4 separate regions of the Homo sapiens genome follow, and regions 2, 3 and 4 are each linked to region 1. Evidence: promoter capture Hi-C in 16 types of primary human blood cells and fetal thymus (Javierre and others, 2016). All regions are on one chromosome and are shown on one strand. Each heading gives the region's core, a stretch centred on a gene start or on the middle of the fragment in contact. The rest is flanking DNA. Distances are from core to core; before and after follow the strand shown.

Region 1 (2,826 bases), core at 238-2,737:
TTTGGATGAGTGCTGCTTTAACGACTCTCATTCCTCAAAACCCAATCGTTTCTCACCTATCTCTCTCTCTCACAATAATAGTTCTACTTCGATTTTATTAGTTGGGATTAAAACTATGCATTTTCAACAAAAGATTTAGCCATTAGGTCTTTTTGTTTATTTTAATTATTTGGCCTGTTAGTTATATACTCTATACCGAAGCTTTGCAGATAATTATTCTACTAAACACATAAACTCATGGGTTTTCCATACACTGTAACATTTTTATGTTGACTAGCAATGTCCCCCTGATTAATAATTTGTAAATGTGAAGAAGTTTCAAATTGGCAGAAACATTAGTCATCATTTAATCAGATATTGATCTTTTATGAAAAGGCATCATTAAAGATTCCAGAAAATGAGGGGAATAAAATATACTTAAACTCACTATTCTGACCTCAAGACCTTTACCCTTTTCATTAGTCATACCTGTTGTTAAAATATGAGTAGGTTCTGTGTTTATCTTCTCTAATCACACAAATTGTTACCCCAGATTATTTGGCTCCAGAGCTGCTTCATGGCATTTTTCACCTCTGTGTTTCTGAGGGTGTAGATTAAAGGGTTTAACATGGGTGTTACCACAGTATAAAACACAGACACAGCTTTATCAATAGGGAAGGTGATCATGGGTCGAAGGTACACCAATATACAGGGAACAAAGAATAGGACGACTACAGTGATATGGAAGGCGCAGGTAGAGAGAGCCTTCCGCTGTGAGCAGAGGATTAGGACGTAAGAGGTAATAAGAATAGAAAAAATGAGCATACACATCAGCCCACTGTTGGCGGCAACAAAGAGTCCAAAGACGTGAGTGTCAGTGCAGGAGAGTTTTAGCAGAGGGAAAAGGTCACAGATGAAATGGTCAATGACATTGGGGCCACAGAAGGGCAGCCAGACTATTAAAAGCATTTGAATCAGAGCGTGAAGAAATCCCCCGACCCATGCCATGGCCACCAGGAGGCCACATACCTGCCTGTTCATTGTGATCAGGTAGTACAGGGGCTTGCAGATGGCCACATAGCAGTCATAGGCCATCACCACGAGCAGAATGATCTCAACTCCCCCAAAGAAATGTTCTACAAAGAGCTGGGTCATGCACCCACTGAAGGAAATAGTTTTCTTTTCAGTGAGTAAGTCAAATATCATTTTGGGGGCCATGGTAGAAGAGGAGCAGCCATCTATGAAGGAAAAGAAAGACAGAAAAAAATACACGGGGGAGTCCAGGGCTGGGCTGGTGGTGATTGTCACCACAATGATTAGGTTGTCTACCATGGTGAGAAAGTAGATGAGTGTAAACACAGCAAACAAGAGTTTCTGTGCCTCTGCGTTCTGTGTCAGGCCAAGCAAGATGAATTCCGTTATGTTGTTCACTTGCTCGAAATCCAGTTTGGTATTTGGATAATTGATTTTTCTGTGAATAGCACAAGGATTGCAATTTGACACATACATTTTGAACAATAAAATAATTTTGGTCAGGATTATTTTCTGTAACACTGATGGAATCCCTAAATCTATAAACCCAAGACTAAGTTGAGCTATGTTATTCATGACATAATGAACACAGATACCTCTTCTCTCTCATACAGAGACACACACAGACACAGAAAAACACATACACACATTCATTTATGTACACAAACATGATTTTATGATGTTGACATGTCAGGCATTTTTCCTATGATTGTACATGGATGGATATTCTCTCAATCACCCTTACAGCATTTTTTTCCCCATAGAAAAACAGCAGTAAAAAGAGGAGGAGCAGAGGCTTGAATTCCTGTCAATTTCCTAGTTTCTTTTTTTTTTCGTTTTTTTTTTTTTTTTAACCACTCATGTTCATGAGGCTACGGTGCAGAGTTTGTTATTCTGGTTATTTTTAACTTGTTTCAGGGTAACTATAAAACATCAGGTGAGTTCACTTTGAAATTAAGGATGATGCCACCACATTTCAGAATCAACTGAACTGAGTGAATGTTTGAGGCTGCAGTAAGATACTCCATGGCAGTTAGATTTGAGAATTTATGCCACATCCAAACAGAATTGTCTAAGAATACAATCAAACACTTCTGGAAGCATATCCTGGAAGAGGATAAAACAGCATGATGCAAGGCAGCATTCCCCAGATGTATCTGAAACTTTAGAATTCACTTGGAGAACTGTCATGTTTAGAATTCAGGGCATTTTGCAAATCAAAACCCAATTTAAGGATGACTATGAAAAATTATATGGATCTGTTTAGAAAACATAATTTTAAGGTGAGGGAAAAAAAGCACCATAATTTATTGGACAGAGTGTTTTTTAGAATCAGATGCCTAATTTTTACATTTTATCTTCACTGACTATTAGCCACATGATATTGTGTACAGATCTTAGTCTCATTGTGCCTAAACTTTTTCATATATAAAATGGGAAAAATAACAAATGGAATGGAGGAACTAAAGAATATCATGATTAAATATATCAAGCTTTGTATCCTAAAGGTAAACCTATAGCTTACCATGTACTCCACATCTTGATAAAGAACACAAGTAAACAAAATTTTGCATATAATTATTTTTATCTTTAAGTTATTTATCATTGTAATATTAAGAGAGAAAATAAATGAACTCAGTACTCAACTCAAGGTAAATAACAAGCAATTATATTCAGAAAAAAAGGTGTAACACAGAAAGACATCAGGCAATAAAAAATTAGACTTGATAACTAAATTAAAAAGCTTTTTGATATTTTAAAAATACAAAGAAAACTGAAGAATAGAAATGAGCTCAATAAGAAACAAATATGGTA
Region 2 (2,949 bases), core at 309-2,808, 1.6 Mb after region 1:
GGTGTAGAGCTCAGATCAATTCCTGGGTGTCCTTGAGGAGGAAATTCTTGTGCCTTTTTTATATCATGTGGTAAACCTAATAAAACATCTTCTGAAATAATTAGCCCTTAAAAGGATGATAGTATCTTCTACCTGACAGGGGCAAATATTATTGAAGACTTTGTACCTTATAAGCACATTAATCATGGAGTTTTGGAATTGGATTCTGTTCAAGACTGATTTTTGCTTAATTAAGTTCACCGGGATTTTCCCCATATTTTTAAAGAACATTTGCATGTAGAGATATTGTCAGATCAATCACATAACTAGGGTCAGAAAGATGTAACAAGGGAAGAAAAAACAACCATTATAGTAGGATTGCCAAAGAAGAATAAAATATCAGCCTAGCCACTTAGAAGATTAATTTATCATATTTTCACCACTTTGCAATAGCAGGCTTTTTTCCTTTTATCTAATTTCCATTTTTTCTGCCTACAAGTGTGGGTTTGGATATGTTTTTAAAATATTTTATTTAGTTGTAATAACTATTTATCTATGCATTTATTATTCTAAAAAATTGTTATGAGTATCCTTTTCATGCCAAGTTCTATGCCATAAGCTTAAGATACAATAGTTAATGAAACAGAAAAAAAAACAACAGCATAAAAGTCCTGCCTACATTAACTTTATATCTTCTAAGAAAGTAAGGAAACAATTTAATAAATTATAATCTATGATCAGTATTTAAAATACTGTGTATTGTTATGAAAAATAAAAGTGAGATATTACTGTAAAGAAGGTAATCAGAGGTCTTTTTAAATGGTGATACTTAGCTGAGGTCCAAAGGAAAAAATATTGCTCCATGGAAAATATTGTTACATGTGGAAAGCTCCAATATTTAAAGAGCTGAGCAAGTGCAAGTCAACAGAAGGTCTTAGTGCCTGAAAGGAAAAGGAAAAGAGAATGGACAGAACAAACTGAGGTTGAAGGGATGGACAGAAGCCAAGCCCTGCAGGGCAGTATAGATCTTGGTAAGGAATTTGTATTTCATTTAAAGTTCTTTTTAAAAGAAAGTAATGGGGACTTATAGTCTAGCATGTAAAGAGCTTAGAAGTCACCACTGTACCCTAACAACAAGTAAAAAGCTGAACAAACTAAAATATCAACAATTCATCTTAAATCCATCACAGAAGTGAGCTCACAGCGCAAACTGCTGCCCTCAAAATTGCAGAGATAGACAGGCAGATAGAGAGAATCACACCTTCCCTGAGCAGAAACCCACAAGCAGAAACCCCACAAGAACCTGTGCCAAGGAGGGTAGATATAGGTAGGAAAAACCTGAACTTAATTGATGAACTTCTTAATGGAGAAGGCTGAAAAATAAAAACTCTAGGGGAATCAGTCAAGGTGGGGCAGGGCAGAGGGTCTCTCACCTTTTGTGAGTTTTAACTTCATGATCCCTACCTGATACTCACAGAAGATGTTAGGAAAAGACCTGTCCACATGTTAAATAAACTTTTTACAAAATATATCCAAACCCACACTAATGGGAAAAAAATCAAGTATTAGATAAAAGGAAAATAATTGCTATGGCAAAGTAGGGAAATAAGTGATAAATTCATCTTCCTGGAGATGGGGAAAAACATTTTTAAATATCCACAGTATTCTGTTCTTCTTAACAAGGCTGGCCCTCAGAAGAACCTATTGTTAGCCACACCCTAACTTGCTGGGGTTTTATTAGAGCCTAACCTACTTGGAGTAAATGAAATACTCAATCATAGCCTTCTCTAAGGGCCTCTTATAAGGGCACTAATCCCATTTATCAGGGCTCCACCCTGATGGCCTCTCAGAGGCTCCACCTCCTAATACCATCACATAGGGAGTTAGAATTTTAATACATGAATTTTGGGTTGACACAAACATTAAGTACATAGCACCTTCCAAAGCAGAAAGCACCAGGTCAGACAGGTTCACTGGTAAATTCTACCAAATATTTAAGGAAGATATTATACCAGTTCTCTAAATTTCTTTTAGAAAATAGAAGAGGAAAGAAGACTTCCTAACTCATTCAATGAAGCCAGCCATACCCTACTCCCAAGAACAAAGACATTACAACAAAAGAAAACTTCAGACTAATATCTCTTATTAATATAGATGCAAAATCCTCAACAAAATATTAGCAGATTAAGTTCAACAATATGTAAAGATAATTGTACACCAGGATCAATGGAGATTTAGTCCAGGTACTTTTGAATGTTGATTCCACCCTGCATACCCGGACTAAATCTCAGTAGATCCTGGTGTACAATTTAGTATGCACGGTGGGATCAACATTCAAAAATCAATTGGCATAATCCATTGCCTCGAATGTTAAAGAGAAAAAATCAAATTACCATATTAATAGATGCAGAAAAAGCATTTGAAAAAATCTAACACCTATTTATGATTCTGAAAAAAAATCTAACACCTATTTATGATTCTAAAAAAAAACTGTAAAGTAAGAATCTACAGCTAGCATCACACTTAATGGTGAGAAACTTGAAGCTTTCCTACTAAGATCGGGAAAACGGCAAGAATGTCTCTTCTCATCACTTCTTGTCAACATTGTTCTGGCAGTCCTAGCTAATGTAATAAGACAAGATAAAGAATAAAAAGTATACTGATAGGAAGAAATAAAACTGTCAATGTCTATAGATGACATGACCATCTATGTAGAAATTTTTTCTAAATCAACAAAAAAATACTGGAACTAATAATTAGAACAGAGTGGTAGGATCAAGGTTAATATACAAAAGTCAATCACTTTTCTATATACCAGCAATGAACAAGTATAATCTAAAATTCAAAACACAATATCATTTATTTAGCAATCCAATAAAATGAAAAACTTAGGTAAAAATCTAACAAAATTGTGTACAAGTGAGAAAAACTACAAAGCTCTAATTAACAAATTAAGGCCGGGCACGGAGG
Region 3 (3,062 bases), core at 69-2,568, 1.5 Mb after region 1:
GTATTTTGAGCGGTCAGTCTTGTTTTCCGCTGTATGTGGAAGGAATAATAACCATACTTATGGATCTACACTGAAAATGGACACTGGCTAACAGGTTTAATAAGCTAATGAGGAAATTGGAAATTTAAAAATGGAAAAATGATGACAAAGTAGTTGGAAGAACCATATGTGGATGAATCTCTCAAAAGGAACACCAAATACTACAATGTTAGTTTACAACATAAATGCCCAACAAAAAGAATCTACTGCAGAAGAAGCTTCCAGGAATCTCATGAACATGAACTGCATTTTGGATGTCAGTCAGCCTTTTTCTCAGTTACCTTTGTAGTCACTGTTGCAGAGATGAATACTCTACAAAGCCACAAGGTCTAAAATGCCATCAGCAATGTCCATCATTGACTCTTTAACATGGTACAAGTAGCTAGGGAAACCAGCCAACAACCTTGTGACAGCTTACTTCATTCCAACTCCTCAGTCTGGAGAGGACAGCATTTTTTCATCATATATTCTGGTTACATATTTTTCCTAGCACTTGCCTTATTTATTATTCACGGAGTAGAATCTGTTATCCATTGCCATGGTATCTCATTCATTATCTATCCAGAAGAAAATTTTTAGTAAATAAATTTAAAACATATAACTCATCACAATAGAATTTACTGGTATAACCACAATTGTCATCATCTAGAAGCTGAACAAATGAGACATTGGAATGGCCTCCTAAAAGATGAGTTACGGTGCCAGCTGGACAATCCTAACCTGAGAATGTGAAATGCTCATTTCCACATGTTTGACACACAATATGTGCTCAGTAAGTTTTAGTCATCACATACCTATGCCACATATATTCTGAGAAATTAACCCAATGCTAATAAACATTCCCCCATGCAGCCATCTATTTTGCCTTTTTTGTTCCGATATCCACAAGATGCCTTTACATACGTTCCTCCAATTCTTGTCAGTGCATATTTGATATTCACAATTTGTTAGTCAAATGAAATATTTCCTTGTAGAACAAGGCAATATTTATCACTTGCACTCCAGTGACACCTAAATATTGATCTAGTTGCAAAAAGGGAATTTTCTGGGAAAGGACATGAGGCCTTTGGTGAGGTGGCTTTCTGCAACTTCTACAGATATTGAAAGGGCTAATATCTGAAAGTTGTCTGTGAACAGCGTGCCCAGCAACTGGAAATATATATCCTTCTTTCCTAAAGGAAGGGCAAGGAAGTACATCCTTTTATCTATCACAGCCTACCTATTATGTCACTTGAATCCATTTCTTCATATACACTTGAGAACAGCTTCTTTAAGATTCTCTTCCTGGGGGAAAATTAAAAGAGAAAGGTTAAGGGACAAATATTGTCTCTTGCCACCATGGCTGATCATAGAGTTGCAACTGCTATGTACCATCTTATTCCTTTATTGTCAATTCTATTTCTCCCACTTCACCTTTTACTAGCACCGCTACTGGTCTCATGACTTACTTAAAGGTGTAGCTTAGACCTTCATCTCCAAAATATCTCATCCTGGTACACTATAATCATTCAGAACCTGATTCTTTTCTATTCTCACTTATTATCACAATTAGAAAGGGCATGGCAAGATGTGCCCCTGTCAGTCACCTGGAAGACAAAAATATCATTGCTTACCACCACTGTGTTATAACACCTCCATTCCACATCATAATCAGGTCAATTACCTTGGCTAACGTTGAAAAAAGAACCTTCTCTCAATGGCTACAGATAGCAATTCTTCTTGTGATAGGAGAGCCAGATGAAATCCAATATGTGACACACAGGATACAGTGCAGTGAGCAAAGAAAAACACTCTTTCATTAAATAATTTCATCCTCTTACCATGAAGCTGGACATAAGATTGAATTTTACACTTATGTTAGCCAATAAGTAAATATCCTTATATTTCAAGATAGTTTGAATTGAGTTTTCTATCATATGTAACAAAAACATCTTAAATGAAACATCCTCAATTTAAATATATATAGGAAACTGAAGTAATGTGTAAGTCCTATTATTTATTTACATATGTATATATTTGAAACAGTACTGCCTTTTTATCAATATAACGTTTTAATCTGTCTTATCTAGAATAGCACATTATTCTTTCAAAATTTAATTGCAATATCCATATCTTTATACTTCCAGATAAACATTTAGAATCAAAGAAATATCATGAATAGCTCAGTTTTATGCAGAAAAAAAGGCAAAATAAGTTTATCATTTTTCCCCACAGATATATACTTAGCATACAGCCATAATTTGGTGAAATAAAATTTATACACGAATATAATAAAAATAAATTCATTTTAATTTGATTAATTAATTCATTGATAGCATCATAATAGTTGATTCCCCAGAAGAAGCTTGGAGGACTATGGGAATGACAGTAAATAACACTAGTCTAGTGTAATTGATCTGTCTAGCCAAAATACAGAGTTTGGACTCATCAGGCAAGTTCCTTGGAACAACATCATTCATGACCATCAGAGACATTTTACAAACCTTACCAAATATACCATCTGTATATGGTAACACAAAAGAAATGACAATGACTCCAGGAGATTTATAATGGGAAGTTACTCACACAATGCCATTGGAACCCAATAACCTTAAAGCCCAGTTGTCTACAGAACTGTGGAAGATTAGATGCTTGCAGATGTGTGGTGTCATTTCTGAGGCCCCTGTTCTGTTCCATTGGTCTATGTATCTGTTTTGATACCAGTACCATGCTGTTTTGGTTACTGTAGTTTTATAGTATAGTTTATGTTATTTAACATAACAAAATGAAATATTTTTTTTCTAGAAAAGTACCATATTTCTGACTTGCACTCTAATGATACCTGAACCTAAATGTTAACCTGGACGCAAAGAGGGACTGCTCTGAGAAAGGGCATGAGACCTTTATTGAGGTGGCTTTCTGCAACTTCTAAAGATACCTAAGGGGACATCATCTGAATGCTGTCTACTAACAGCACACCCAACAGCTGGAAAAATAAATCCTTCTTTCCTAAATGAAGGGCAGGGCAGAGGCTCCTCATATAT
Region 4 (2,911 bases), core at 380-2,879, 1.5 Mb after region 1:
GTGTTCTCACTCATAGGTGGGAATTGAACAATGAGAACACATGGACACAGGAAGGGGAACATCACACACTGGGGACTGTTTTGGGGTGGGGGGAGCAGGGAGGGATAGCATTAGGAGATATACCGAATGCTAAATGACAAGTTAATGGGTGCAGCACACCAACATGGCACATGTATACATATGTAACAAACCTGCACAATGTGCACATGTACCCTAAAACTTAAAGTATAATAATAATAAAATTAAAAAATAAAAAATAATTATATATTCATTCATAACATATATCACCAAGTCTGACTACCTATGAAAGAATTTAATAAATGTGACTATTTTTCTGAGCATTAAAAAAAAGGAAATAATTAATGGATTAGATTGGCAGATTATTTTACCTGTTTAGGAAAACTAGACTTCAATATTTTCTTATGATCAAGAAAAATAAATTTTCCGTTGGCTGGAAAACAAATGTTTTCGTAATTTTTTTAATGGGGATGACTAGAGGCAGGAGAGAGGGAGGTGGGCAAGGGCTGAAAAACTACCTGCTGGGTACCATGCTCGCTACCTGGGCAGGGGTGCAATCATACTCCAAACCTCAGCATCATCCAACATACCTTTGTAACAAACCTGCACATGTGCCTCCTGATTCTAAAACAAAATCTGAAAAGAAAAGTAAGTAAATAAAATAAGGTGTTAAAATGTATAAAGTCACTAGAGGGAAATGGAATTTACTGAGGTGTCATATGACAGAAAAAATAAGAAGTAAAAAAGTTAAGATAAAACATTTCTGTATAAAAACATCCATAATTGTAGCATCAATAACATAGTAAAGTAAATATTTATAGCAAATATCAAAGAATGGAATGAACATACATACATTTTTGATACAGAAAAACTTTATCAGAATGTATCAGTAAAATTTCTGACTCCAATAGATTAAGAATTCAAGGAAACAAGTAATTAACAAAGTTTATGGAGTAGGCTCTATGTGTCAGACATTGTGCAAGGAACAGAGAGCACAAAGAGAAGTAACTTTCCCTGACTTCAGGGAAATTTCCGACCAATAAACATAAACAGACAATTAACCAAGATTTTTTTTATTACATCACTCAATAGAACCGTACAAATTGGAAAATTAATTACATGTCCAAAAATGCAGGACCTAGTTTTATAAACTACCAAATGCTCAATACTATTTGGAGAATGGTGCTATGTTTTGGAAGAGCTTGGATGATATAAGAAATCTCCATGTAATAATAATAAGGATAAAAATAATAATACAAAGTGAACTCATATAGTGTGATTTACCAGGGAAATTGACTTATGTTTTTCCCTAGCCTTAGTCCCTCATGAATCCGGACTACAGAGGAGAAGCAGGAACAATGAGTTTCTTTGATTACATGTTTTCTACCTGTAGTCAGGGGCAGATAAAATTTTATTTCAAGCCTGATTCAAAAGAAATTTTCACACAGATTTTTATGAATGAAGTGTCTTTCCAATGAAACATATGTTTTAGTCCGTTTTTTACCTAATAATCTGCATTCTATCAATAAAGAAAGAATGGAAGCATCATATATTGCCAGCATCTTTCTTTTTTTTTTCTTTCTTTTTTTTTCTCAGTCTTACTCTGTCACCCACATTAGAGTGCAGTAGCATGATCACGGTTCACTGCAGTCTTGACCTCCTGGGCTCAAAAACTCCTCCAACCTCAGCCTCCTGAGCAGCTGGAACCACAGACATGCACCACCACACCTGTCTATCTTTTGTGACAATGGTGTATTCCAAAATATTTGCTATCAGGCTCTGCATTGCATATTTGAAGTTCATAGATTATGGATTATGCTGATTTTACATATAAAAAGCAGAGCCTGGCTGTTTTTTAGAAGGCCATGAGAAGGGGGTATTGAAAATAGCAGAGGTATTATCAGATATTCTAAACATCTGGGAAGATCAATGGATCATTTTTATATAAATATGGAACCAAAACAAGCTGCTTCACCTGAGGACTAAACAGCATCCATTAATGATAAGTACCCAAGGAAGAAGTACATAGGGGCATCCAAAGTTGGGCTGACCACCACAGTTACAACAATGAGTATGTCACCTACCATTGTCACAAGGTAGATGAGCAAGAACACAACAAATAATATTTTCTGTCTCTGGGGGCTCTGAGTGAGCCCCACAAGGACAAACTCTGTCATATTTTTCTTTTGTTCCGTATGTCTTTTTGTATGTCCTTATTCCAGTGTTCAGGACAAAATTACCTAAAAATATAATTATTACTAGTAACTTCATGAAATTTTAGGATAATTTGTTTATTCATTCAACAAATAGGTGCTATGAGTTATTATGTTCCAGAATTGCAAGACATTATAAGAATATAAGGCTGATTAAAGCATGGTCCCCAACCTCAGCAATCTTACAAATTAATGGAGAGAGAAATAAGTAATTTGGGATGTATATGGGAAAAGGAAGTTTATTAAATAAATGAGTTTGCCAAAACTAGTTTTACATCTGGACGATCATAAAATTATACATATAGCTAATACCATAAACAAAAATAAATACAAATGAATTAAAGATTTAATATAAAACTAAAGCTAGATTTACTTTATATTTACTTTCCAGTTAATAAAGGAGATGACTTTCTACATTCTCTGGATGGGAGAATCTTCTTAACTAATAATTGAAATCCAAAATAAACATATTCGACAATTTCAAAATTGTTTAAGAATTTGGGAAAAGATACCATTTAAAAATATTTACAATTTTGAGGACACAGAGTTAATATTTAAAATAGACAGAGTGCTCTAAGCAATTAATAAATAAAAGACAAACCAATAGCAAACTGGGCAAATGATAGAAACCAGCAATTTAAAAAAACCAGTACATTCAAATGGCCAAATATAATAGGGTG

The links. Contacts are between HindIII fragments. The CHiCAGO score rates a contact against its expected background, and 5 or more counts as called.
Region 2: a contact is called between a fragment that was not itself captured here and the fragment with the promoter of OR4C5 in region 1, in 7 of 17 cell types (M1 macrophages, monocytes, erythroblasts and 4 more). The highest score is 8.7, in M1 macrophages.
Region 3: a contact is called between a fragment that was not itself captured here and the fragment with the promoter of OR4C5 in region 1, in 8 of 17 cell types (endothelial precursors, erythroblasts, M0 macrophages and 5 more). The highest score is 11.1, in endothelial precursors.
Region 4: a contact is called between a fragment that was not itself captured here and the fragment with the promoter of OR4C5 in region 1, in 5 of 17 cell types (M0 macrophages, M2 macrophages, erythroblasts and 2 more). The highest score is 10.0, in M0 macrophages.

The regions. Positions count from the first base shown.
Region 1 is chr11:48,364,978-48,367,803 of GRCh38, forward strand. OR4C5 (olfactory receptor family 4 subfamily C member 5) reads right to left here and starts at 1,488. Exons shown (of 1, transcript NM_001348223.2): 1 at 508-1,488. The coding sequence starts at 1,488. The coding sequence ends at 508. The HindIII fragment of the contact is 2,303 bases long and covers 200-2,502 here.
Region 2 is chr11:49,930,566-49,933,514 of GRCh38, forward strand. No RefSeq gene overlaps it. Among named protein-coding and RNA genes, the nearest start is that of OR4C13, 20 kb to the right of the region's middle. The HindIII fragment of the contact is 1,925 bases long and covers 597-2,521 here.
Region 3 is chr11:49,894,602-49,897,663 of GRCh38, forward strand. No RefSeq gene overlaps it. Among named protein-coding and RNA genes, the nearest start is that of OR4C13, 56 kb to the right of the region's middle. The HindIII fragment of the contact is 2,126 bases long and covers 256-2,381 here.
Region 4 is chr11:49,913,349-49,916,259 of GRCh38, forward strand. It overlaps the pseudogene OR4A49P. Among named protein-coding and RNA genes, the nearest start is that of OR4C13, 38 kb to the right of the region's middle. The HindIII fragment of the contact is 5,755 bases long and covers 1-2,911 here.